Linked DNA regions of Homo sapiens: region 2 is linked to region 1. The links are contacts of gene promoters, found by promoter capture Hi-C in blood cells and fetal thymus (Javierre and others, 2016). All regions are on one chromosome and are shown on one strand. The core of a region is centred on a gene start or on the middle of the fragment in contact, and the rest is flanking DNA. Distances in the headings are between cores, read along the strand shown. Region 1 holds the start of DMRTA2 (DMRT like family A2). Region 2 overlaps FAF1 (Fas associated factor 1).

The links. The method cuts DNA at HindIII sites, captures the fragments that hold promoters and counts their contacts. A CHiCAGO score of 5 or more calls a contact.
Region 2: a fragment that was not itself captured here is called in contact with the fragment with the promoter of DMRTA2 in region 1 in 2 of 17 cell types (endothelial precursors and megakaryocytes); the score reaches 6.7 in endothelial precursors.

What each region holds. Positions count from the first base shown.
Region 1 is chr1:50,422,129-50,426,146 of GRCh38, forward strand. DMRTA2 (DMRT like family A2) reads right to left here and starts at 1,315. Exons shown (of 3, transcript NM_032110.3): 1 at 988-1,315. LOC105378714 (a long non-coding RNA gene) reads left to right here and starts at 1,418. Exons shown (of 3, transcript XR_947325.3): 1 at 1,418-1,769; 2 at 2,310-2,473; 3 at 2,712-2,744. RefSeq lists a silencer at 2,438-2,497. The HindIII fragment of the contact is 17,148 bases long and covers 14-4,018 here.
Region 2 is chr1:50,601,439-50,605,927 of GRCh38, forward strand. The region is part of intron 8 of FAF1 (Fas associated factor 1); the gene reads right to left. Among named protein-coding and RNA genes, the nearest start is that of FAF1-AS1, 160 kb to the left of the region's middle. RefSeq lists an enhancer at 1,908-3,107. The HindIII fragment of the contact is 1,207 bases long and covers 2,266-3,472 here.

The DNA of each region.
Region 1 (4,018 bases), core at 65-2,564:
AGTTTGGGGCAGAAGCTTTGGAGAGAAAAATCAACAACAGAAAGAATAGCTTTAGGAAGCAGAGTGAGGACGAGGAAACAACTTGGGCAAAGTTAGGCCCAGTGGCTCTGGGACCCGTAAAAATGTGAGCGCCAAAAGTTCCACGGTGAGGGCCTCCAGAGAGTGAGAGACAAAATGTATGTGGAATTTAGCTTAGGACTGGGAAGTATTAAAGAGAAAAATTCGGCCAAAGAAACTTTCTGTATAGGCAAACCCAGCCCAAAGATGAGCTTCATGGGCAAGGAAAACAGTGAAAAGCAGCTGATCTGGGTGTCCGGGATCCAGGGGCCGCGCCTGGGAGAGGGGAATGTGTAAGAAAAAACCCCACAGGCAAATGCTGGGGGAGGGGATTGGGTAAAACCTGTGGTGCAGTTTTTTAGCTTCGCAGTCTGGAGTAGTAGTCGGGGCGGAAGACGTATCCTGCGAAAAGTTAGGCATTTCGGGAGGGGGATCTTTCTCGAAGACCACCTCACACTGCCCTCCCCTCCCCTCCGGGTTTAGGGACAGAGTCGTCAGACACGCCCTCCCCGTCTTGGGGTCCCAGGGGACCCCTCTCGAGCGCAGGCTCCTGCGTTCTGATCTCAGAGTTGGGGTCCTAGGACACGGATGGCCCAGCAGGCCGCACCAAGCCAGGGGAGTCGCCTTCGCAACTGGCCATAAACGGACACCAGAGTCCCTCCCACGCCGCAGCCCCATAAGGCCCAAGCAGGCCCAGCTCCCCGCTTCTGCCGCGGTCTCCTCTGCTTCCCGCGTTCCCCGTCCCTGCCAGAGCCCGCGACAGAGTCCTTGTGTCTCCGTCCGAGAGTCCCAGACCTCCTCTCTATGAGCGTTGCCTCCTCTCCCAGACCCTTCGGGCGTCCCTAAGGCCCACGGGGCCCAGGCCTCCTCAACAGGGGCCGCAGACCAGGTCTCCACCCACTGCTCTCCCTGCGGCCCTCAACTACCTGCCTTGGGCTCCGGGATCCTCCTCCTCCGCTGGCGCTGCACGCGCCTCCCGGCTCCACTGGCGACGCTGGAGCTCTTGGCCGCTTCCCTTTGCCCCCGGCCCCTTATCTGACCACGTCACCCTCCTTCAGTCACCATGTCCGAACTTCCGGACCCCTCAGAACGCAGCGCAGTCCAACCCTCCCTTCAGAAATCCGGGTCGGAGGCTCGTCTGCGGGCCGCGTGGTTGGAACCCGCGACCTGACTCTCGCCGTGCCGGGTCCCCTCGCGGTGCGCGCCGGACGCTGCGCGCAGCCGGGGCCCAGTTGCCCGGCGCTGCCAGACTCTCAATGAGCCGCTCGCCCGCTCTATTGTTGGTCCTTAGGGCTCCATTAGACAGAATTGGACAACAATGTGGCGCCTGCCATTGGCCAGGGGAGGCAGACGGCGCTCTGATTGGCCGGGCCCGCGCCCGGGGAGCCCCGCATTCTGCAGTGTCCGAAAGATTCGAAACTCCAAAAGCTCCACTGCGTGCCTCTGGGAGGGGAGGGGGCGCGCCAGGAAAGGAGTGGAAAAAAGTGGGCGAGGAGGAGCGTTGAAAATTTCCTGACAAGTAGTTTCCGTGCGCCCGAGAGCGTGTGAATTGCTCCTAATTACCGTGTCCGGTGCGCCTCTCTGCGTAGACTTGTGTAACCTCTCGGCTTCTGGGGCGCCGGCTCGGCTGCACCGCTCTTACTGGCCTGGGGCGCTTGGCAAAGCCGAGCTTCCCAAGTGGCTCTGGAGCCCTGAGGCGGGATGGGGGGCAGGTGACAATTCAATTACTGCGGTCGGGGTAGGGGCGGGACAAGGGTGCGGGGGTGGGGAAGGGAGGGTGTTCAAGGCATAAATGCCAGGACGATTTTTCCTGCCTTCTTCCTGCTATGTTTCGGCGCGCTCCCAAATCCGACGAGTTTGGGGTAGTTGGGGGCTGCTTTGGTTTTTTCCTCCTGTCTCCTTAAAGCTCAGTTACTTTATTTTAAAAGTCCTGATACGATAGTCATCCTGGAGGGTAAGTGTGGTTTATGAAGATTTTCGTGTTTAAAGAGAAGCTCAGCGAAGAGAAATGAGATTGCACTTCCTGTCGGTGCCCGCCACGTCCCTCGCGCCCTGAGCCTTTCCTCTCCCCGCCCCTCTTTTCGCGTCCCTCAGCCCCTTTTGAGCTCTCTTTTCCTCACTTTTCAGCATCTCGATTTCTTTTCCGTGGTGGTGGGATTCTTTTTGTCGTTATTGCAAATGAACAAATAGCCCCCCCCCCTTTTTTTTTCTTTTCTAAACGAAAGTAAAAAGTGGCCTCTGTGTCTCCGCAGATTCTCTTAAACTCAGGACGCGCATCGGTCTGTCCGACCTTCCCGGCAAGAGACAAAGTCACTGCTGGGAGGCCCCCTCGGACAGTTTTCAGTTTTAACTTTCGCCTTATTCTCGTCTTGTCTTGATGTCACGGCCCTGAGGAACAGCTCGTTCTGCAGAAGAGGTAACAGGTTTCAGATTTTGTTTCCTTTTTGAAAGGCTGTTGCCTTTCAAACATCTGGAATTAATGCCGCGGCCCTCGGGCGAGTCGCCCTCGGTTTCTGTAGCTCTGATTTTATCTCTGTGTCTTTTCCCCTCTAATTTCTAAAGTTCTGTTTTTCCCTCTAATTCTGTTTTTCCCTCTAATTTCTAATGTTCTGTCACTCTCGTTTTTGTTCTCTACTTTTCTCTCTCTCCTTCAGAATAAAGAAAATTCGTTTAAATAATGAGGAAAATGAGCGTTCCTGTCGTTCTCCCTCCACTCTTGACCGTGCGTCTCTGCGTTGCTCTTTCGAACCTCCAGGCCGGCGGGAATCTGGGCGCGCAGACTCGGCCCGGGTCGTCGCGGCCTCAGGACGCAGCCCATTCCGCCTGGCACGACTACTGGGCCGCGTCTTGTCAGTCTATCAGCTTCTGAGCCCAGGAATGGGGGTGGGGGAAGGACGGTGCGACTAACGGGCCCCCACCCGAAGACCGCAGAACCTGGCGCCCCGGAAGAGCCCTGGAAGATGCCCACCGGGAGGCTGAGGCTGGAGGGAGGAGTGGGTGGGGGTGATTCGCTGGAGGACCGGGCGGAGAGCTTCCAGAAAGTTCACCAGGCCCCGGCGCGAGGGCGCTCCGACACGGACAAGGTCTATGATAGCGATAAAAAGCTGGTTACTCGCTCCCAGAAAATGCCACTTGCTGGAGTCTGTGAATGGGTTTAGGAGAGAGAAGGGTGTCAGCCCCCGCGAGGGTCTCCCGCGTGAAGTGAGGATAAGGGAGTGCTTCAGGGATAATATGTCCTCTAGGAGCGCAGGACCCAGACCCCACCTTCCAACACCTGGAGGTTCCGAGGCCAAGTATGTCTAGCCCCGGCTGCACCTGGGTAGGTGAGCCATGGGGTCGGGGGAAGAGCGCCGACAACCGCCGGATTCCGCGCAGGGGCCGCCAGGCGCCTGCTCCCAGAGCTCCTTTGGACAAAGTTTTCGGGAAATTCTATTAAACCGAAAACGAAATAAACTATACAAATCTGCCTAGCTTTTGAGGGGGCGGTGGCCCAGGTATCCTTCTCGCTTGAGGCCAGGTCACCGTGAGATTTCCCCACTCCGGACCGGGGATCCCGCAGAAGCCAAGGGTGTAGCCACGAGGACTCGGGAACCCGAGGCGGCCCAGCAGATGCGTGAGGAACTTCATTTTCTCAGGAGTGGGAGGAGGAGCATCCTGGCATCTAACACAGCCCAACCAGAGGGAATCCGCCCAACCCCTAGTGGCGGCATCTCACTCTTCTCTCGCTCCTCTTTTCTGGCATTCACATCCCCACAGGTCTGAGACCCACAGCCTTTTCTCCCACTCCCCGGAGGTTAGGGTGTTCATGTGAGTGAATGTGTTATGGAGGGAGGCAAAATAAACCCGTTATGGAGGGAGGGCAAATAAACCCAAGGTCATCTCACCCACACTTCGACAGGGCAGGATATCCTCTGCCCAGCTTCCCAGGCCGCTCCAGGGCCAGTTCCTCCTGATTTGGATT
Region 2 (4,489 bases), core at 1,619-4,118, 180 kb after region 1:
TGGGAGGCCAAGGAGGGCAGATCACTTGAGGCCAGCAGTTCGAGACCAGCCTGACCAACGTGGTGAAACCCCGTCTCTACTAAAAATACAAAAACTAGCTCGGCATGGTGGCGGGAGCCTGTACTCTCAGGCACTCGGGAGGCTGAGGCAGGAGAACTGTTTGAACCCGGGAGGCAGAGGTTGCAGTGAGCTGAGATTGAGCCGCTGCACTCCAGCCTGGGTGAGACTCAGTCTCAAACAATACATATATATTCATATATATATATATACACACACACACTATATATATTCATATACACACATATATTCATATATACACATATATATTCATATGTATACATATATTCATATATACATATATTCATATACATATGAATTAGTTCTTCAAAGTATTTTTTATTTTATAGCCAAATTTTAACCCTCCCCAAATACATGCTTGCAGTCTGTCTTTTTTTCTAATTATAAATGACAAAGAATAAGACATTTTAAGAGTATTGGAAGCTATAAAACCTGTTATGGGACCTTGGGTCAGTAACCAAGAGTCTTAACATCTCCTTTTGTAAAATATAGGTACGACCAACTAAATGGCCTCTCAGATCCCTTCTAGCCCTAATGGGCTATGATCTTCATACATCACTAAGGAGATTTGGTTATGTCACCTGCAGACTCCTTGCTCTGCATGTGACACACCCAGTAACACAAGTGAACGAGATTCAAACTACAGCTTTACTGTTTTTATCTTTTATTCACTCAGTTTGTAAAATACAATTCTCTTGTGTTTTAAGAAGAACAATTAATATGAGACATTTTTTAAAAACCATATCTCAAGCTTGTCATCGTCCTCACAAGACACTGATGTAATTTCATCCAGATTTGGGAATGCTACCGGATATTAGCACTGACTACACTGCACTGATGATCTTTTTAATCTGTGTATTTGTATGTCAAGATGTATCCAACTGTACACTTAAAAAATGTATGGTTTATTACAGGTCAATTATACTTCAATAAGGCAGTATTCAGTGCTATTAATATATGCATTTATATCCTCATATAAAGTATTGCTTTTTTTTTTTTTTTTTGAGACAGAGTCTCACTCTGCCACCCAGGCTGGAGTGCAGTGGTGTGATCTCAGCTCACTGCAACCTCCGTCTCCCAGGTTCAAACGATTCTCCTGCCTCAGCCTCCTGAGTACCTGGGACTACAGGTGCATGCCACCAAGTCCGGCTAATTTTTGTATTTTTGTAGAGATGGGGTTTCATCATGTTGCCCAGGCTGATCTTGAACTCCTCACCTCAAGTGATCTGCCCGCCTCGGCTTCCCAAAATGCTGGGATTACAGATAGGAGCCACCTCACCCAGCCTAAAGTATTGCTTTTTGACATATATATACATACACCCATGAAACCATTCCGTATTTTAAAAAGCAGTTGTATAATAACTGCTACTATTAAGAGCTCAGTATGTATTGTTATTACACAAAGTGCTTTACACGCACTACCCCACTTAATTCTCACAATAACTCTGCCAGGTAAGGATTATAATCCCCACTTTAGAGATGAGGTTACTAAATCTCACACAGAATAAGAAGGTTGCCCAAAGTCAAACAGGTACTGACTGGTGAACCAAAATTAAAACTCAGGCACTTTATCTCACAACCATTTAAAAAGTATCCAATCGAACAACTATTAAGGCTCTAAGATATCTTGTCTTACTATCTGATAACCAGTAATTACTTTCTTTGGCTTAATTAAAACAGCTACTCCTAGATACCATCCATTAGTCAGAAACTACATAGTAAGTGCTTAACATATGTCTACCATACATGACAACTCTGTAAATTAAAGACTATCGTGATTGTACAAATCATAAAACAACCTTAGAGTAGTGGAGTAACCTGTCCAAGATAAATCAGGTACCAGATGGCAAACCAGATTTAACTCCAAAAGCCATGGAGTTTTCTATTACATCACATTTCCAACGTAGATAAGGTTTTTTATAGTAAGGAGTCCTGAAGATGACTTCTAGAATACCCCTTTTAAATTTTCAGATGCTTACTGTTCAGCTAAATAGATTACTGAGGTAGTTTTAAACCGAACTGAGTCATGAGGCTAAAATTTCATTTACTGCCAACCAAAGCGCAACTCTAAAAAGCTTATTTTTATTCACAATCCGAGGTTTCTTCTGCCCTTCCCCCAGCCATTTTTTTTGTCACTTATGTGCTAGAAAAGTCACACAGAGCTTTAATTTGTGGCAGGTTGAAGCAAGCTTATCAAGAATGCTAGTTACCAAGTGTACATGCACTTGTCTGGACTAGCCCACTGCCACATTCTTGTAGCAGGGTTAAACAGCAGTTTAGTCACCTCATAAAAAAGCACACTGTTAAAAAGGAAGTGACTAATAATATTCTGGAACCAACAGAATATTAAAAGACATGTGCAGGTCAAGATCAATTATCAACAAAACTCCTGTGTAAATAGCTCAAAAAACTGTGTTCTCTGCCTGGCCTTGCTGCGTTATAGTCCTCAATTGATTTGGCAAGTTGGTAAAGTTTAATGAAATAAACACCAACAGTTACAAGTTCTCAGGCTTTTTGCTATGTACATAAACACAAACACTACCATGTAAGCAACCGGAGCTGGAAGAAACAAGGATGGCTGCTATACATGGCTTCATTTTACACACAAGATACTAGATTTGGAAGAGTCCTCAGAATTCATCAGTTGCTTGTATCCCAACCAGGAGATCTTGAAGCCTTAGCTGAGTCAAGTGCTACTGCCATATCTTCCACCACTCAGCATCTCCCTTGCCCCATTCCAAGCTAGTAATAAGAATTTCCAGAGAGAAGGTATCAGCAGCCTTCTCTTAAACTTCTATCAGTGATCCCACCATCCCCAACAGATTCCAAATGAAAGGCAGTTTCTCCTCACAAGATAAGGGTCTAATCCTCTCACTTAACAGGAAAAGAAACTGAGGTATAGAGAGGTAAAGTGTTTGTCCCAAGTCTCACATCTGCTTAATGATAGCACAAGCATGTTCTCTTCTTGACTCCTAATCTCGGTTTTTCTTTTTCTTCTTTTTTTGTTTTTTGAGACAGTCTTGCTTTGTTACCCAGACTGGAGTGCAGTGGTACAATCACGGCCGACTGCCACCTCGATCTCCCAGCATCAAGCAATCCTCCCACCTCAGCCTCCTGTGTGGCTGAGTCTGCAGGTGCATGCTGCCATGCCCAGCTAATTCTTTAATTTTTTGTAGAAATGAGGGTCTCCTTATTTTTTGTAGAGATGGAGTCTCATCATGTTGCCCAGGCTGGTCTTGAGCTCCTGGGCTCCCCCTTTTGGCCTCTCAAAGTGCTGGGATTACAGGTGTGAGCCACCACACCCAGCCAGCTATGTGTTTTTTAAAGATGTTACAGTTAATTGTAAAATACTAACAAATATCTTGATTTAATTATCTCATATTTTCTTTTTAAAAGCTTTTGGAAATATATATAGTAATTTTAAATGCTCCTGACTTACTTTTTTGGTTTCTTTCATTTAATCTGGTGGGACTCTCAAAATCAAGGAGAATCACCTGATGCTATTTTCCACATTATAATTACCCACTTTTATGCTTCCTTATACTGTCCCAACATTATCTTGAGATTTTGGCTATCAAACAGAGGTTGCTCAATATAAAAGGTTTTTTTGTTTGTTTGTTTTTTTAATCTTCTAGGGCATTTCATCCCCTAAAACCAGATTATGTCATAGCGAGATAAAGAGCTGCTCACTGTAACAGAATTAGCACAATTTCTAAATGGATATGCTTTTATAACTAAACACAGACATCAATATTCTTGTACTTCATTACTTATTGATTTTAGTGAGTACACTAGAAGAGGTTCTGAAGTATTTTACGTCATTAAAATACTTCTGAAGAGCATTAAGTTACACAATAAGAAATACAACCCAGACCAGCCTAACACTGTCTAATGGCATAGTCCCTCATACCTTTTTAGAGAGAATGGTCAACTTTACCTATATAAAAAAGTACTATCCTCAGGTAAGTAAGTGCTCAAGATGTTATTTGTAAGGCAACTTTAAACCAAAGTTATTTCAGCTCAATCAAGAACTCTGTTTCAAAGTCAACTTTTTTTTTTTTTCACAGAGGCCAATAATCCACACTGTGAATTAAAATAGCCCTTCTTTCACAGTTCCTATCACTACAGCTTTATGCCATTTAGTTGCTTATGAGCACCCTCTGGTGGAGGGCAGAAGAGGGAAAAGAACATATTAAACACATTGCCTATAACCAGTAAGAAGGGTGAGGGGGAAAGAGAGATCTGGAATATGTGCAGATTTCTCTTGACTCTGCTTTTCTTCCTCATATTATTTGATAATTTAGAACTATTTGTTGAATGTTATACTAACCATATAGTTACTCAGAGTTGATAACTTATTCAATAAATATTAAGTTATTATATGTCAGGCACTTGGATCCAAATAACCTGG